Regions from separate parts of the Homo sapiens genome. Here regions 2, 3, 4 and 5 are each linked to region 1. The links are contacts of gene promoters, found by promoter capture Hi-C in blood cells and fetal thymus (Javierre and others, 2016). All regions are on one chromosome and are shown on one strand. The core of a region is centred on a gene start or on the middle of the fragment in contact, and the rest is flanking DNA. Distances in the headings are between cores, read along the strand shown. Region 1 holds the start of PARN (poly(A)-specific ribonuclease). Region 2 holds the start of DEXI (Dexi homolog). Region 3 holds the start of VPS35L (VPS35 endosomal protein sorting factor like). Region 4 holds the start of COQ7 (coenzyme Q7, hydroxylase). Region 5 overlaps SMG1 (SMG1 nonsense mediated mRNA decay associated PI3K related kinase).

What was found. The method cuts DNA at HindIII sites, captures the fragments that hold promoters and counts their contacts. A CHiCAGO score of 5 or more calls a contact.
Region 2: the fragment with the promoter of DEXI here is called in contact with the fragment with the promoter of PARN in region 1 in 3 of 17 cell types (non-activated CD4 T cells, naive CD4 T cells and naive CD8 T cells); the score reaches 7.2 in non-activated CD4 T cells.
Region 3: a contact is called between the fragment with the promoter of VPS35L here and the fragment with the promoter of PARN in region 1, in 2 of 17 cell types (total CD4 T cells and fetal thymus). The highest score is 5.6, in total CD4 T cells.
Region 4: the fragment with the promoter of COQ7 here is called in contact with the fragment with the promoter of PARN in region 1 in 1 of 17 cell types (neutrophils); the score reaches 6.9 in neutrophils.
Region 5: a contact is called between a fragment that was not itself captured here and the fragment with the promoter of PARN in region 1, in 1 of 17 cell types (monocytes). The highest score is 5.6, in monocytes.

What each region holds. Positions count from the first base shown.
Region 1 is chr16:14,628,896-14,631,595 of GRCh38, forward strand. PARN (poly(A)-specific ribonuclease) reads right to left here and starts at 1,365. Exons shown (of 24, transcript NM_002582.4): 1 at 1,212-1,365; 2 at 702-779. The coding sequence starts at 1,230. RefSeq lists enhancers at 333-856, 857-1,378, 1,379-1,901. The HindIII fragment of the contact is 4,468 bases long and covers 1-2,700 here.
Region 2 is chr16:10,941,086-10,943,785 of GRCh38, forward strand. DEXI (Dexi homolog) reads right to left here and starts at 1,383. Exons shown (of 2, transcript NM_014015.4): 1 at 484-1,383. The coding sequence starts at 920. The coding sequence ends at 633. It also overlaps a transcript of CIITA not described here. RefSeq lists a silencer at 973-1,522. The HindIII fragment of the contact is 2,950 bases long and covers 303-2,700 here.
Region 3 is chr16:19,554,285-19,556,984 of GRCh38, forward strand. VPS35L (VPS35 endosomal protein sorting factor like) reads left to right here and starts at 1,419. Exons shown (of 31, transcript NM_020314.7): 1 at 1,419-1,462. The coding sequence starts at 1,446. RefSeq lists enhancers at 1,014-1,493, 1,053-2,015, 1,874-2,103. The HindIII fragment of the contact is 7,423 bases long and covers 1-2,200 here.
Region 4 is chr16:19,066,203-19,068,902 of GRCh38, forward strand. It overlaps COQ7 (coenzyme Q7, hydroxylase), which reads left to right and starts at 1,412. Exons shown (of 6, transcript NM_016138.5): 1 at 1,412-1,535. The coding sequence starts at 1,463. It overlaps COQ7-DT (COQ7 divergent transcript), which reads right to left and starts at 1,489. Exons shown (of 3, transcript NR_119381.1): 1 at 1,379-1,489. RefSeq lists a silencer at 1,436-1,595 and an enhancer at 1,626-1,775. The HindIII fragment of the contact is 11,366 bases long and covers 1-2,700 here.
Region 5 is chr16:18,804,455-18,807,154 of GRCh38, forward strand. It overlaps SMG1 (SMG1 nonsense mediated mRNA decay associated PI3K related kinase), which reads right to left. Exons shown (of 63, transcript NM_015092.5): 63 at 406-2,700. Among named protein-coding and RNA genes, the nearest start is that of ARL6IP1, 4.3 kb to the left of the region's middle. The HindIII fragment of the contact is 779 bases long and covers 1,034-1,812 here.

The DNA.
Region 1 (2,700 bases), core at 115-2,614:
AGGGGAAAAAAAATTTGCAACTTTAAGTGTCAGTGAAGTATTTCCTGTATACACACCTGTTGAGGCAGGCAATGAACACGTCCACTAATGCATAAAGAAATATCTCATTTATCTGCAAAAACCTGACCCTAGCCGGTCACAAAAGGGCAAATATTGTAAGATTCCACTTATATGAGATGTTAAGGGCAGTCAAATTCAGAGACAAATGGCGGTTGCTAAAGGCTGGGCGAAAGGAGAAATGGGGAGTTTAATGTGTAAAGAGTTTCAGACTGTGAAGATGAAGAAGTCCTAGAGATGGATGGTGATGTTTGCACAGCAATGTGAATGTACTTAATGCCACTTAACTGTAAAGCCACTTAAAATGGCAAATTTCATGTTATACCTATTTTACAATCAAGAAAAAAAACAGTCTGACCCTAATCCTCAAGCTCTCTGCAATGTACACGCCGCACTGTTTTAAGCAGCATCAAAACCATCATCTCTATCTGAGATCCTGAGTCCAATCACAAACCTACGGCGTATCTTCATTTCTTTCGTGCTTTTGAAACGTTTAAAGGGTAACACTGAGACCTGTGAAACCCGCCCAAGGCTACTAACAGCAAGAGGCCACCACCAAGCATAAGAAGTTGGGGGCTGGGGGATTGAAGGAGCCTTGGCTATGCACTGCAAAGTGCTAGCCTGAGCTTGCAAGGGAGGGATACCTGAAAACTCCCCATCGATGGCGAAGAAGTCGGCCTCCTCTATGGCCTGGTACACTTTGTGAAGATTACTCTTAAAATCTGCGGAGAAACCGAAAAGAGGCTCAGAACCAGTGGCCTGAATTCCTGCTAAGGGGAGAGGGAAGGAGGGCCGAGGAGCTCCCGAGGCTGAGAGCCGGAAGGGGAAAAGTCCCGGAGGTGTGCACCGGGGCGAGGGGAATCAAGTCCTCGAGGGGTGCATGGGTCAGGGGGGACAAGCCCCGGGGGGTGCCCGGCCCGGAGAAGGACAAGGCCCCGGATGGTGCCGGGGTTGGAGGAGTAAGTACAAGGCTCCTAGGGTGCACGGTCCGCAGCCGGAAAAGACCCCAAGAGGCGCACCGGCTTAAGGAGGGAAAAGCCCTGAGGGGCTGCCTCAGCCCCAGGCCCAGCCAAACACGCCGGCCATGGTCTCGGCCTAGCAGGCCAGGGGCAGCCGGGTGTGGGGAGGCGGGGAGGTGTACGGCGGACACGCACTGCTCCTGATTATCTCCATTCTGCAGAGTGGCCGGAACCTTGGCCCCACCCGGGCCCGCGCCCGCCTCAGCGGTTCTACTCGCCGAATTCCGCGGCGACTGCGGCAGTAGCTGAGGCAGCCGCAGCGGTGACGCCGGCCGCGACTTCCGGAAACAGCGCGCGCCTGCTGCGCTTGCGTCAGCGCCTGCGCGGCGGCGGGGGCGGGGCCAAGGCTGGGCTCCTTTCCCTCCTTATAGGGACAGGGGAGGGGCGTGGCTATCGAAGTCCCCAAGGCGTGGCCTAATTTGTGCGGGCTTTCACTTCAGTAGAAAAAATGTGCATGTCTCGACATCCAGTCGACCAGGAAATACTGACTGGGTTTCTGTGATATGCTAGCCACTCTTACAGGGGTGGAGATACAGTGATGAACAGGAAGACGTGCTCCCTGCCCCATTGTAGCTTAAACTTGGGGTAAGGGGAAATTCAGGCAGGAGTGAAACTTGCCATTTGGTAACACATGAAAATCGCTATTAAGAAAAAGAGCGGGGCGATGTAATAGAGAATAATGGGATCCGGGTGCGGTGGCTCACGCCTGTAAGCCTAACACTTTGGGAACCCGAGGCGGGAGGATCCGTTGAACTGAAGAGTTCGAGACCAGCCTGGACAGCATAGTGAGACCTGTCTCTTAAAAAAATAAAATTAGGCCGGACCCGGTGGCTTATGCCTGTAATCCCAGCACTTTGGAAGGCCGAGGCGGGCGGATCACGAGATCAGGAGTTCGAGACCAGCCTGGCCAACATAGTGAAACCCTGTCTCTACTAAAAATATAAAAATTGGCTGGGCTTGGTGACTCATGCCTGTAATCCTAGCGATTTGGGAGGCAGAAGCGGGCGGATTACCTGAGGTCAGAAGTTCAAGAGCAGCCTGGCCAACATGGTGAAACCCTGTCTCTATTAAAAATACAAAAAATTAGCCGGGTGCAGTGGTGCGCGCCTGTAATCCCAGCTATTCGGGAAGCTGAGGCAGGAGAATCTCTTGAACCTGGGAGGCGGAGGTTGCTGTGAACCGAGATCACGCCACTGCACTCCAGCCTGGGTGACAGAACGAGACTTGTTTTCAAAAAAAAAATTAAATTAAATTAAAAGAATAATAGGGGTTGTTACTTAGGTGATCACGGAAAGCAAAGCTGAGACCCTTAGCTACTGCATTAGCCTCTGGGAATACTATGTCGAGTGCAACATATGAGGCCCGGCCCTAATGGAATTGTATGTTGGTTTGGGGTTGCTGTTCTCCAATGCCTAGCACTGGGCTGACACGTAGTAGACACTCAATAAGCATGGGTTGAATGAATACATTCAGGTTGGTCTTTCACAAAAGCCAACTATGAAAAGTTGGTTAGTGCCGGATGCGATGGCTCACGCCTGTGATCCTGGCACTTTGGGAGGCCGAGGCAGGCGGATTGCTTGAGGCCAGGAGCTCGAGACCAGCCTGGGCAACACGGTGAAACCCC
Region 2 (2,700 bases), core at 133-2,632, 3.7 Mb before region 1:
CACTTAATCCCCACCCAGCTACCCCAAGGGCCACAGTACAAAGGTGATTCGTGCCTGGCTCCCTGTGTCTTCTGACACCCCTAAATCTTTATCCTTCTAGGACAAGCGAGAATCCCCCAAAAGCCAAGGTCATCATCAAGCCAGGATGAGGACTGGAGGAGGAGCTGACAGCTCTGCCTCAAATGGATTTGGGAGCGAAGGCTTTTTCCATAAGCTTTGGGGGTAAGTCACAGAGCTACCCCAAATGTAACTTAGTCTCGGGGTCTCCTTCCTTTTCACCAGCTGTCCCCTTTGCTGGAGGAAGCTTTCCAGCCCAAACGAAGGGCTTAAGAGGAGTCTGGCCATTCCTGGCATCCAGTTAGACCTGGAGGAGGTGAACGGAGGAGAAGCCTGAGGGAGGGGTGTGTATCCGGCCTGGGAATTCCTCCCTCTCCCTTGCTAGCGCCCCAACCCGCCCTCATCCTGTTCAGAGAGGGCACTTACAGGCCTCGGAGGCAGGGGAGGGTCTCCTCCTGGGGAACCATCCCCGTCCAGATGGTGCCCCCAACCAGCTGCGGCGGCATGATCTGGGCGGCTGGTCCAGGGCATGGGTTGCGGATCGTGTAGGGAAGAGGGGAACAGCAGTCGAGACCCTACTCCAAGTACGCATCAAAGACGTCGAGCTCCGAGTCAGCATCGTAAAGGCCCGAGCCGGGGTCGGAGAGCACGCCGAGGTCCACGAGCGCCTGGTCCATGTCCTCGGGCAGGAAGACGAGGCCCACGTTGAGGACGATGTACTCCATGAGGAAGGCGTAGTACAGGATCAGCACATTGACGAAGAACAGGCCCACGTAGAACATAGAGGGCAGCAGCGGCGGCGGCACGTAGGGGACCAGGGGGCCCAGTGCGTCCAGGTGGGCCGCGACCCGGGCGCCGAGCATGCAGCGGGTGGCAAGGGCGGCGGCCCGGCGATCCCGGCGAACTCAGCCGCTGCGGCGCCCGGGCGGCCGGCGAGGGCACAGCGCAGCCATCCAGGGGTACCCTGGAGCCCGACAGAAGCAGGGCCGGGCTCCAGATGTCCCCTGGCAATTGCGCCCCGACCCCCGAAATGCGCCGGGCGGGTCACCGCACCCCGAGATGTGCCCCCAAGGATCTCTCGACCGCCCGGGCGGCGAGGCGGGCCCCCCTGAAGTGGCCCGCGGCTGCCCGGCTCCCTCGTGGCGCCTCCCTGGCGCTCGCAGGGCCTCGCAGAGCCGGTGGGGATCCCACCGCGGCTCAGTGTCTAGGGCCGGTCCCGGCAGCCTTCTCTCCCGCCCCGCCCCGCAGGTCCTCGCGCACCCCCCGCGCCCCCGCAGGCCCAGCACCCATGGCTGCGGCCGCCGCGTAGCCCTCCCGGTGGCGCTCGGAGCTCCGCCTCCCGAGGGGCCCCGAGCTCATTGGCAGGCCGCCCCCTGCACGCGCTAATTGGCCGGCTCAACGCCCGCGCTGATTGGCTCCGGCCGCCAGGGGGCGGGTACCGCTTCGCTCCGCCCCTCGGGGCCCTAGCGTCTGAGTTGCTTTCCTGGTTCGGGTCTGCCCTCAGATCTCAAATCGAATTCGCTCTGCGTATCGAATAGGGGGAGGTAAAAGAGACTGAACACAGTTCAAACCTAGACATAATGCTAAGGCCGCAAAAGCCGAAGGAAACCCGGGCTACCGCTGCACCTTGCTGCATGCCTCTTTGGGACTCCGTTTCTCCTTTAAAAGGAGGCGGGGTCGGGGAGGGGCGACGGACGGTTGCCCTGGAAATTTTGGACATTCCCAAAGCGCCAATTTTCATGGTGGAGATCCACCAGTGTCCCCTTCGCTTCTCCAAACTCTGGTTGCTGGAAGGTCCGCCCACTACGGAACCTGCATCCTAGAGTTAAGGAACACCTGAATAAAGAGATTCCGAGGTAGTTCAGATCTTCAACCATAAGGATGCTTTTTGTTTCTTTTTACTTTGTGAATCATGTTTAAAAGCAATAATACACATGGCTAAACATTCAAACAACCGTGAAGTACACAGAAAAGTGAGTCTCTCCCACCCACTGGTTCCCCTGCTCTTGGGTAACCGTTGCATGTCTTTCAGGAAAACATGATCTCGCCCAAAGAGCCTTCCAAAGCAGTTCAAGAAACCTTTAAATCTCAGGCCACACTGAGCTGAGTATTTTACATGCATCGCTTAATCGGAGGTATACAAGGCAGTGTAGTATGTATGTGCGTACTTTTTACAGATGAAAAATACGAGCCCAGGGATCCTACATTTCTGAGCCTGGGTGTGTTTCTTTGGAGGCCAGATCCTGTTCTTTTTTGCTCCATGACTTTGTCTTGCCCCACTCTATATGAATTACAGGACAAACCATTAACTCTCCACTCTTATCCATTTCTCCAACTGCTGAAGGTGAAACAAACCTTTACTCATTCATGCACTCTACCAATATTTGTTAAACACCTGCTATGTGCCAAACCTTGTGCTAGGCACTGGGGAGAACATTGGCCTCTGGCCCAGTTCTTTCTTGAGCAGAGTTAATGGGACACAGTGGACCTTTAATAAGGTTGATATGTAGAAGTGACTGAATGAATGAATGGATGGTAAACTTGAGAAGTCTTGCCCACACTGAACTTACCACTTCTAATCCAGGGTAGAAGTTAGATATATTCTGGCTCATGCAGAAAGTTGGGTGTTTCCTTTTTCATTTT
Region 3 (2,700 bases), core at 169-2,668, 4.9 Mb after region 1:
TTAAGAATCCTCCTCTTGTTACTGCCTAATCATGCAGTGTGAGCCTAGGAAAAGGCTCCTCACCTTGACCTCTTATTGAGATGTTGCATGTGATAACATGCATGGCTGTATGGGAAGAGCTCCTTGCTTTCCCGTGGCCACCCTTTAACCCTTGTTCACTTCCAGTGTTGGGAATAGCAGGTACGAGTGGATATACTTTCCTACTCATACTGAGCTGAACACTGGAGGGCCCGTTCTGGAGATGATCCTTTTCCCTGTCATAGGTCACCATCTCATGAACAACCACAGACCACCACCCCCGAATGAAAAGTAAGAGTTATAAAAACATCGAATGCTTTCTCTCTAAGGGACCATAATGGATATCTAAGTAAGTTATAAAAGTAATAATTAAAAAAAAAATTTTTTTTTGAGATGGAGTTTCGCTCTTGTAGCCCAGGCTGGAGTGCAATGGCGCAATCTCGGCTCACTGCAACCTCATCCTCCCGGGTTGGAGCAATTCTCCTGCCTCAGCCTCCCGAGTAGCTGGGATTACAGGCGCCCGCCACCATACCCAACTAGTTTTTGTATTTTTTAGTAGAGACGGGGTTTCACCATGTTGGCCAGGCTGGTCCCGAACTCCTGACATCAGGTGAACCACCCACCTCGGCCTCCCGAAGTTCTGGGATCATAGGCCTGAGCCACCGCTCCCGGCCTAAAATAATTTTTAAAAACGTTCTGTGGTCGAAATGGATATCCACCTTCCTAGAAACACTGCTTTGCCAAGTTGGACGAAATGCGAACCCTAATTTCCCCACGTGCATTAGCTGTAGTCAATCATATTAGATCTAGGGCAGCCCTCGGTTGCTAGTCGTGGGAAGGGCATTCTGCAAGTGTCTAAAACCGCCCGCAAAGCAGTGGGTAAAGCAGCGGCCTAGAGGGGGCATGGCTGTCCCACGCCAAACAGCGTATTAGCCGCAAAACCAGGTACTGGCTGAACCTCAGTTTGCGTCTTCGCTCCGCCGCCTTCTGGAGTCCTTTCTGCCCCTAGAGGACGCAGGTGAGCTAAGCAGCAGTCATGCCCTTTACCATCATGACGCCCGCAGGCGGGACCACCCGGCACTGTAGACAGCTGCCCTTTACAATCATGACTCATAGAAACTACGGCACTCTGGCCGTGGCCGACGTTGCTCCTCCGAAGCATGGCGCCGGCGGGAGTTGTAACCCGGGCTGTCCGGAGCGGGGAGCTGCCCCTCACAAGCATGGCGTCAGCTGAAAATGAAGCCTGTGCTGTGCGGAGCGTCGCCTGCCCCTCACAAGCATGGCGTCTGCAGAAGGTGCTGTGCGGCCGCTGCGGGGCGGCCAGCTGCCCTTCACAAACATGGCGGCCGAGGGGTGCGGGGAGTGGCGGGGTAAGGATGGGAAGCCGAGCAGACGGCCCCAGAACAAGCGGTCATGTGACTGGGAAGATGGCCGTCTTTCCTTGGTAAGGAAGCAGCGGCGGGTGGGCTTTGGAGAGGGGCTGTCCTTACTTGTGATGGGGTCGGCCTGGGTCTGAGAGTGTGAATTCCTCTCTGTCGGGTTCTGGTGGTCGACCGGCCACCCCCAAGTTGTCTTGACCGTAGAATCCCTGGCCGCTACCGCGGTCCAGCGGAGCAATCTGAAGCCAGACTGGCGGGTTCTTGGTTCTCTCCCCGTCTGCTGCCTCTCTGCGCCTTCCACGGGCCCCTGTCCATTCATTCCCTAAAGAAAACTTGAGTTTCCAGGCTTCCGCGTCCCCAGAAGTTGGCGCGGGTTCTGGGGTCGCTGGATGAGGGTAATGGTGGACTCAGCTTTTAAAGTCTGGACGAGTCGGGAGATCTGGCTGTTGGTCAGTTTCCTCAGCTCCTCTGTTCACCTGGAGACTTGCTTTTCTCATCTGTAAAATGGCCGCCATTCATCCTATCCTAGGCACAGCCCTCAGACTTATTCCTTGGCCTCAAGGAGCTGACAGTATAATGGGGCAGACGCACAGTAGAGGGATGTCTAAAGAAGGCATTCGGATGAGGCACCAAGAAGGGAGTGATTATCCCCACCAGGGGGCTAGGGGAAGGCTTCAGAGAGGAGGAGTTAAATTGGGTCTTGGAGGATGAATAGGAGTCCACCATAGGGAGGGCGTGGCGTGTGCCTGGTTGGCAGGCCCGTAGGTCCCTTGTGGTTGGAGTAGCTAGGAATGAGTGACTGAAGCTTCAGGGTTCAGCAGGTGGTATGTGTGTGAGTGAAGAACTTGAGGAAGTTGTGTTGTTGATGATAGTGGGATTTGGGGACGGGGAATCTCTCCTGCATCTCAGAAAGCGAGATAATTTACTTTCTCTTCAAATGATGTGAAGTAGCTTAGATTAAATGAGCAAATGAAAGACCTTAGAAATAATCAGGTACAACCTTCTGCTTTTGAGCTTGATAAACACTTCATTTTGTCTTATTCCTTTCATTTGCCCAACACTTAAGAGACTGCTTCCTTGACACGCTACATCAGCATTGAATGCCTCTGAGCACTTCCACACCCTGAGGTTTTTTTTTTTTTTTCAGTTAATAGTCATGCTGGCTGGGTATGGTGGCTCACGCCTGTAATCCCAGCACTTTGGGAGGCCGAGGCTGGCGGATCACCTGAGGTCAGGGGTTCGAGACCAGCCTGGCCAACATGGCGAAACCTAATCTCTACTAAAAATACAAAAATTAGCTGGG
Region 4 (2,700 bases), core at 162-2,661, 4.4 Mb after region 1:
CTGAGGCAGGAGAATCGCTTGAACCCGGGAGGCAGAGGTTCCAGTGAGCCAAGGTCTCCCCACTGCAATCCAGCCTGTGCGACAGAGTGAAACTCCATTTAAAAAGAACAAAAACAAAAAACAAAACAAAAAGGAAACAGAGACCTAGAAGTGGTATTACAGCAAAGGTTTTGAACATTTTAAGGCTTTTGAGCGCCAGATTCAGACACTCAGTAGTTTTACATGAGAGTGCTACAACATCCTCACTAAGTAGTATTTGGGTTCATCATAATTTTAAATTATTTTGGTGTGTCAATTTGAACACTAGAGTGATATAAAAACTAAAAACTTGAATTCAATAATTTTACAATTGTATTCCATCTTAAAATATTTTATGGTAAACTTGGATAAAGTATATAAATAATCCAAGGGTGTAAAGTAGAAAGTGAAAGCTCCCTTCTCCCAGTTCCAGCCCCCTGATGTTGCCAATATTAAACGTTGTATATCCTTGCAGACACGCATCTTTGATTTTTGCCCTCATGTACATTACTCATTTAAAAATTATTTCGTTGAGTAGATTCCTAAAAGTAAGACTGCTGTATTATATGATCTTTTTAAAGTATGTTGCTAAATTTCCCCTCCCTTCTCAAAAAATTCCAATTTGCACAAATATACATGCATACATGCACACAGTACATTAAGGTGGATACCAAGGATAAAACATGTTCTCTGTTTCTGAAAATAGAGAAAAGACCGGGAAGAAGTTTAAAGTTGGCTTTCAGCCCACCAATAGAGATAACACTATATAACACCATTAACCATGTGGTGCATGTAATTTAGATATACATATAATTTTATTTATTTATTTATTTTTCAGACAGGGCCCAGGCTAGAGTGCAGTGGCAGAATCACGGCTGACTGCAGCCTCGAGCTACCGGGCTCAAGCTATCCCCCCACCTCAGCCTCCCGAGTAGCTGGGACTACAGGTGTGCTCCACCAGACCCGGCTAATTTTTAAAATTATTTGTAGAGGCGGGGTCTCGCTATGTTGCCCAGGCTTACTATTTTAAAGTAGATGTAGGATACAAATAAAAAAAAAAATCTCCTTCCACGTAGGTAAAGCAGGAAATACCGTGCCTTGTTAATAAGTAATTCCCTCATGATCCTTTTCCCCAGGAACTTGGGTGAGAAATCATAACCTTGTCCTGATCTTTCTAAACAGCAATTTAGCATTTTCATCTCCCTGGCAACCCAAGGCGCCTTGGCCTTGGTCTTCCGAGTGATTGACAGTGACCCCACCCAATAAAATCTTTTTATTTGTCGTATCTAACCAATCTAACCCCTAGCGCAGAGCTAGGGGGCGTTCCCACCGGTGCGCGGGCGAGCTGAGCCTTCCTTACGTCTGCTGTGCGTCATCAGTCCGAGCCAAGGGCACTATTGGCCAGTTCCGTTCAACGAAGTGGTTGCTTTTTTTAGTTCCGGCAATGAGTTGCGCCGGGGCGGCGGCGGCTCCCCGCCTTTGGCGGCTGCGCCCGGGGGCCCGGCGGTCCCTCTCAGGTAAAAGGAGGCGCGCAGTCACAGTCCTGCGCCGGTCTAGCGAGCTAGGGAATTTTCGCTTGAGGTTTGGGTCGAAGAGGTCACGGGGGAGAGGTTCGTAACGTCACAGGCCTGCGACGGAGCGCGACTGCGTGACTTCGGCCTCCGGGGCGCTGGCGGGCGGGGCGGGGTCTGTAGTTAGCGGCGAGAGTGACAGGAGGACAGGGGTTGTTTCGGCAGTGACGCCTGGGGAGTGACGCAATTGCACCCCTGTGCAGTGATGTCACGGCAGGTGCGGCCAGCGTTCCGAGTCGAGGACAGTTGGCGACACTGAAAATTCAGCGTCTCCGGGAGTCTCTCTCTTTGTAGTCTTTGCCCAGGGCCTTGCCAGGCAAAGGGTAGCCCGACGACCAGCAGCCTCCGCTACTTCTGGGCGCTCGCTAGAAATACAGATTCTCGGGCCCCACCCCGACCTACTTGGTCGGTATCTGTGATCTGTGAACAGGACCTTTAGGTGATTTGCATGCACTGTAAACTGTGAAAGCCATCAGTGTAGTGGAAGGAGCATCGAATTTAGAGTAGAGAGACATGGTTTTGGACCCTGGTTCCTGCTTTCCTTGTTTCATCTGTGCTGCCTTAGAAAATTGTCATGAGCCCGGGCGCGGTGGCTCCGGCCTATAATCTCAGCACTTTGGGAGGCCGAGGCTGGAGGATCCCCTGAGGTCAGGAGTTTGAGACCAGCCTGGCCAACATGGTGAAACCCCGCCTCTACTAAAAATACAAAAATTTGCCAGGCGTGATGGCAGGTGCCTGTAATCCCAGCTACTCAGGAGGCTGAGACAGGAGAATCGCTTGAACCCGGGAGGCAGAGATTGCTTTGAGGCGAGATTGCACCACTGCACTGCAACCTGGGCGTCAGAGCGAGACTTTGTCTCCCCCGCGCAAAAAAAAAAAAAAAAAAGAAATTTCATGAAGTCGTTTTCTCAACGTTAAATTACCGTGTACCACTTTCGGGATTTTTGCCTAATGGCAGTACTGCTTGAACTTTTGATTACTAGATGTGTTTTTTTGTATAGCTATGTCCCATTTAAAAATTAAATTAATTTCCTTGAAACAAAATCCTTATGGTGAATGGGAAGCCAGTGCCACTTGCCACAAATGGGTGAGTAATCATTAAAAAAAAACA
Region 5 (2,700 bases), core at 173-2,672, 4.2 Mb after region 1:
TACGGGAATTTTGTTTTTAAATACTGCCAAAATTAAGCTTTATAAATTGGGCCTTAACACAAAGAATTTTATCGTTGAAGTAGAATTTCTACTGCTATTCAAAAATACAACAGATGTTTGAGAATAAAATAGTTACTTTTCTGAGAATTTAGGGGTCTTTTTTGAGGTATTAGTGCTATTCAGAAAAAAAAGACTAGGCTTGGCTCGGCTTAGTGGCTCAGGCTTGTAATCCCAGCACTTTGGGAGGCTGAAGTGGGAGTGTAACTTGAGCCCAGGAGTTCGAGATCAGCCTGGGCAACATAGGGAGACCCTGTCGTTTTGTTTTTTCAAGCTACCCAGGTTCCAAAAGGTTTCAAGTTTTCCAAAATCTATTTTGACCAATAAATTCAGAACTTAAATGCTGTATCTTTTGAGACTGAACCTTTATTTTCTGAAAAACAGGTATTTCATACAATCTTTGCCATGTTAATGCAAATATGCACAAAGTAGGCATGTATTTGTTTTCCAAAAGATGCATTATGAACATTTTCAGGAAGCTGGTGTGATTTATTCAACTTTTAAATACAATCACAAAATTATATCCATCAGGAGGCATTACAACCTTTTGTACAGAAAAGCCACTATTTATACATTGTTACTAAGACAAGGAAGATTCAGTTCAACTCAACTTGCTCTTAGAATAAGGGTAAAAAGTAAATTAACAAGTAAGTGAAGTATGATGTTGTTGCCACTGACATTACAGGTGGAAATATAAGGGAAATTTAAACCAGAAAAATGACACAATAACTTTAAAGAGGAGCTGAAACTTTGTCAAAAAAAGAAAAAACTATTAGCCTGTTTTCAAAGAAAAACATTCTAAAAGTGTGCATTTCAGAACATAGAATTCTTCTAAGTTTACCATCTTCAAAAATCTTCTAAATTGTATGACACTTTTACATTAGCACAACAAACAGCTTTTTCTAAGTCTAGCCAAGTTCCCATGGAAGGCAAACGACCCTAAGTAGTTCATATTTTACAGCCCTTGAACTTATAAAGCTTTTCTCATTAAGAGTCAGTTTTACCCTTCTGTAAATAAGGATGGTGATACTGTTATCCAGGCCTAAAAAGCAGGAAGTGCAACAAACCCTTAGGGTTTCATGATACAGTGAATTTTCCCCTCCCCAACGTTTGGAAAAAATTGGGACACTTGCTAGTTCTTCCCTGTGGGAAGAATCTTTCTAATATTACCCAAATATTGAAAACAAAATCTACCTTCTTTAACCCTTGTATTAGTAATTCTACCTCCTTGGCTTATGGGGGGAAAAGTCCTAGTTTTAAATTGCTGGCATTTTACAAGCTCAACAAGATAAAAAATTGAACACTGGTTTTCATACTCTAATTTTATGTAAAACAAAGATGCTTAAATGTGCGAATAGTAAAGCATTCACTGATATTTGATGTATCTGAATAGGACTAACAGGCTAATTGTAGGTGCTTTCATATGAAAATAATTGGGAGAAAAGAAGAACCAGCTCCTTTGATTTCAGTACTGCCAAAACAAGTAAGCCCCCAGAGTTAATTACAAAAATGTAGAGGAAAATAGGCCCGGAAGACTTTGCAATTTAAAGTACTGCCTATAATACCCCAGATTAAAAAGGACCGAAGATTGCACATCAAGTCTAATATTTGGCTGTACTTGCATTGCCCTGCTCGGCATTTTTAAAAAATGGCTCTTTCCTTAAATTTCACACGTCAGAACAACCACAATTAAAAAAACAAAAAACAATGCAGATAACACCAAACATTGGACAATATTAAGAAAACTACTTACTAAGCTTAGGTAATAGAGGCAAGGGTTAAGGGCAGAAGTGATGGAAGTGTTTCTTTGTATTACAAACCCTCACCCTAAACCTGGGGTTTGGGCTCTAAAAAAGTAATTTAGGGAAGCAGATCAAGAGCCTGATTATCAGTTCTCACATGGAAATCTCAACAGATTTCAAAAGCAACTCACCACAAGTGTCAGACACAAAAGAATCTTAATAATCATCTAGCAAACTACACTAAGAACTCAATGACCAAAAATAATCAATCAAACTTCAAGACACACCAAAGCAACAGTAAAAGAGAAATAACTACACAAGCTAAGCTCTGTAGAGAAATCAACTAAAAATTAGGCAATTCTAGTAAATTAAAGACAGCAAAAAACTTAAGATTGAACTTCAATTTCCAAGGGTACTTTGAAGAGGTTGTTTGTAGGTTATTCTGTACCCCCTGATTCTTAAAGAAAGTGGAGGAGAGGGGGAGGCGACAGAGGAATGGAGGGAAAGGGGGAGGCAAGAGAGAGAAACAGGAGAGGATCCCTGGTTTTCCACAGGTATTTTATCAAAAATGTATGACTTCATAACTACAGCACTCTAACTTTTCTCAGTCTAACTGCTGAGGTCTCTTACGAAAGTTCAAATGGCAAGTCACCTTGTAGAATGACTTAACAGAGGAAGCCAAACTATACAGACCAGGGCCTTGTCCAGAGTGCAGTAAGGAGCAGGCTTTTGAAGTCATCTATTACATCTGCCTTACAACCAAACCCACTGTGTATGCCACATTATTCTTGGAGGGACCACTTTAAAACAAAAGTGATGGATAATTTACCAGAGGCACATGCTTTTGAAGTAAAGCTGTTTTTTGTTTTTGCTTGAGTAAGGTGCCAGGTACCTCTGAAGC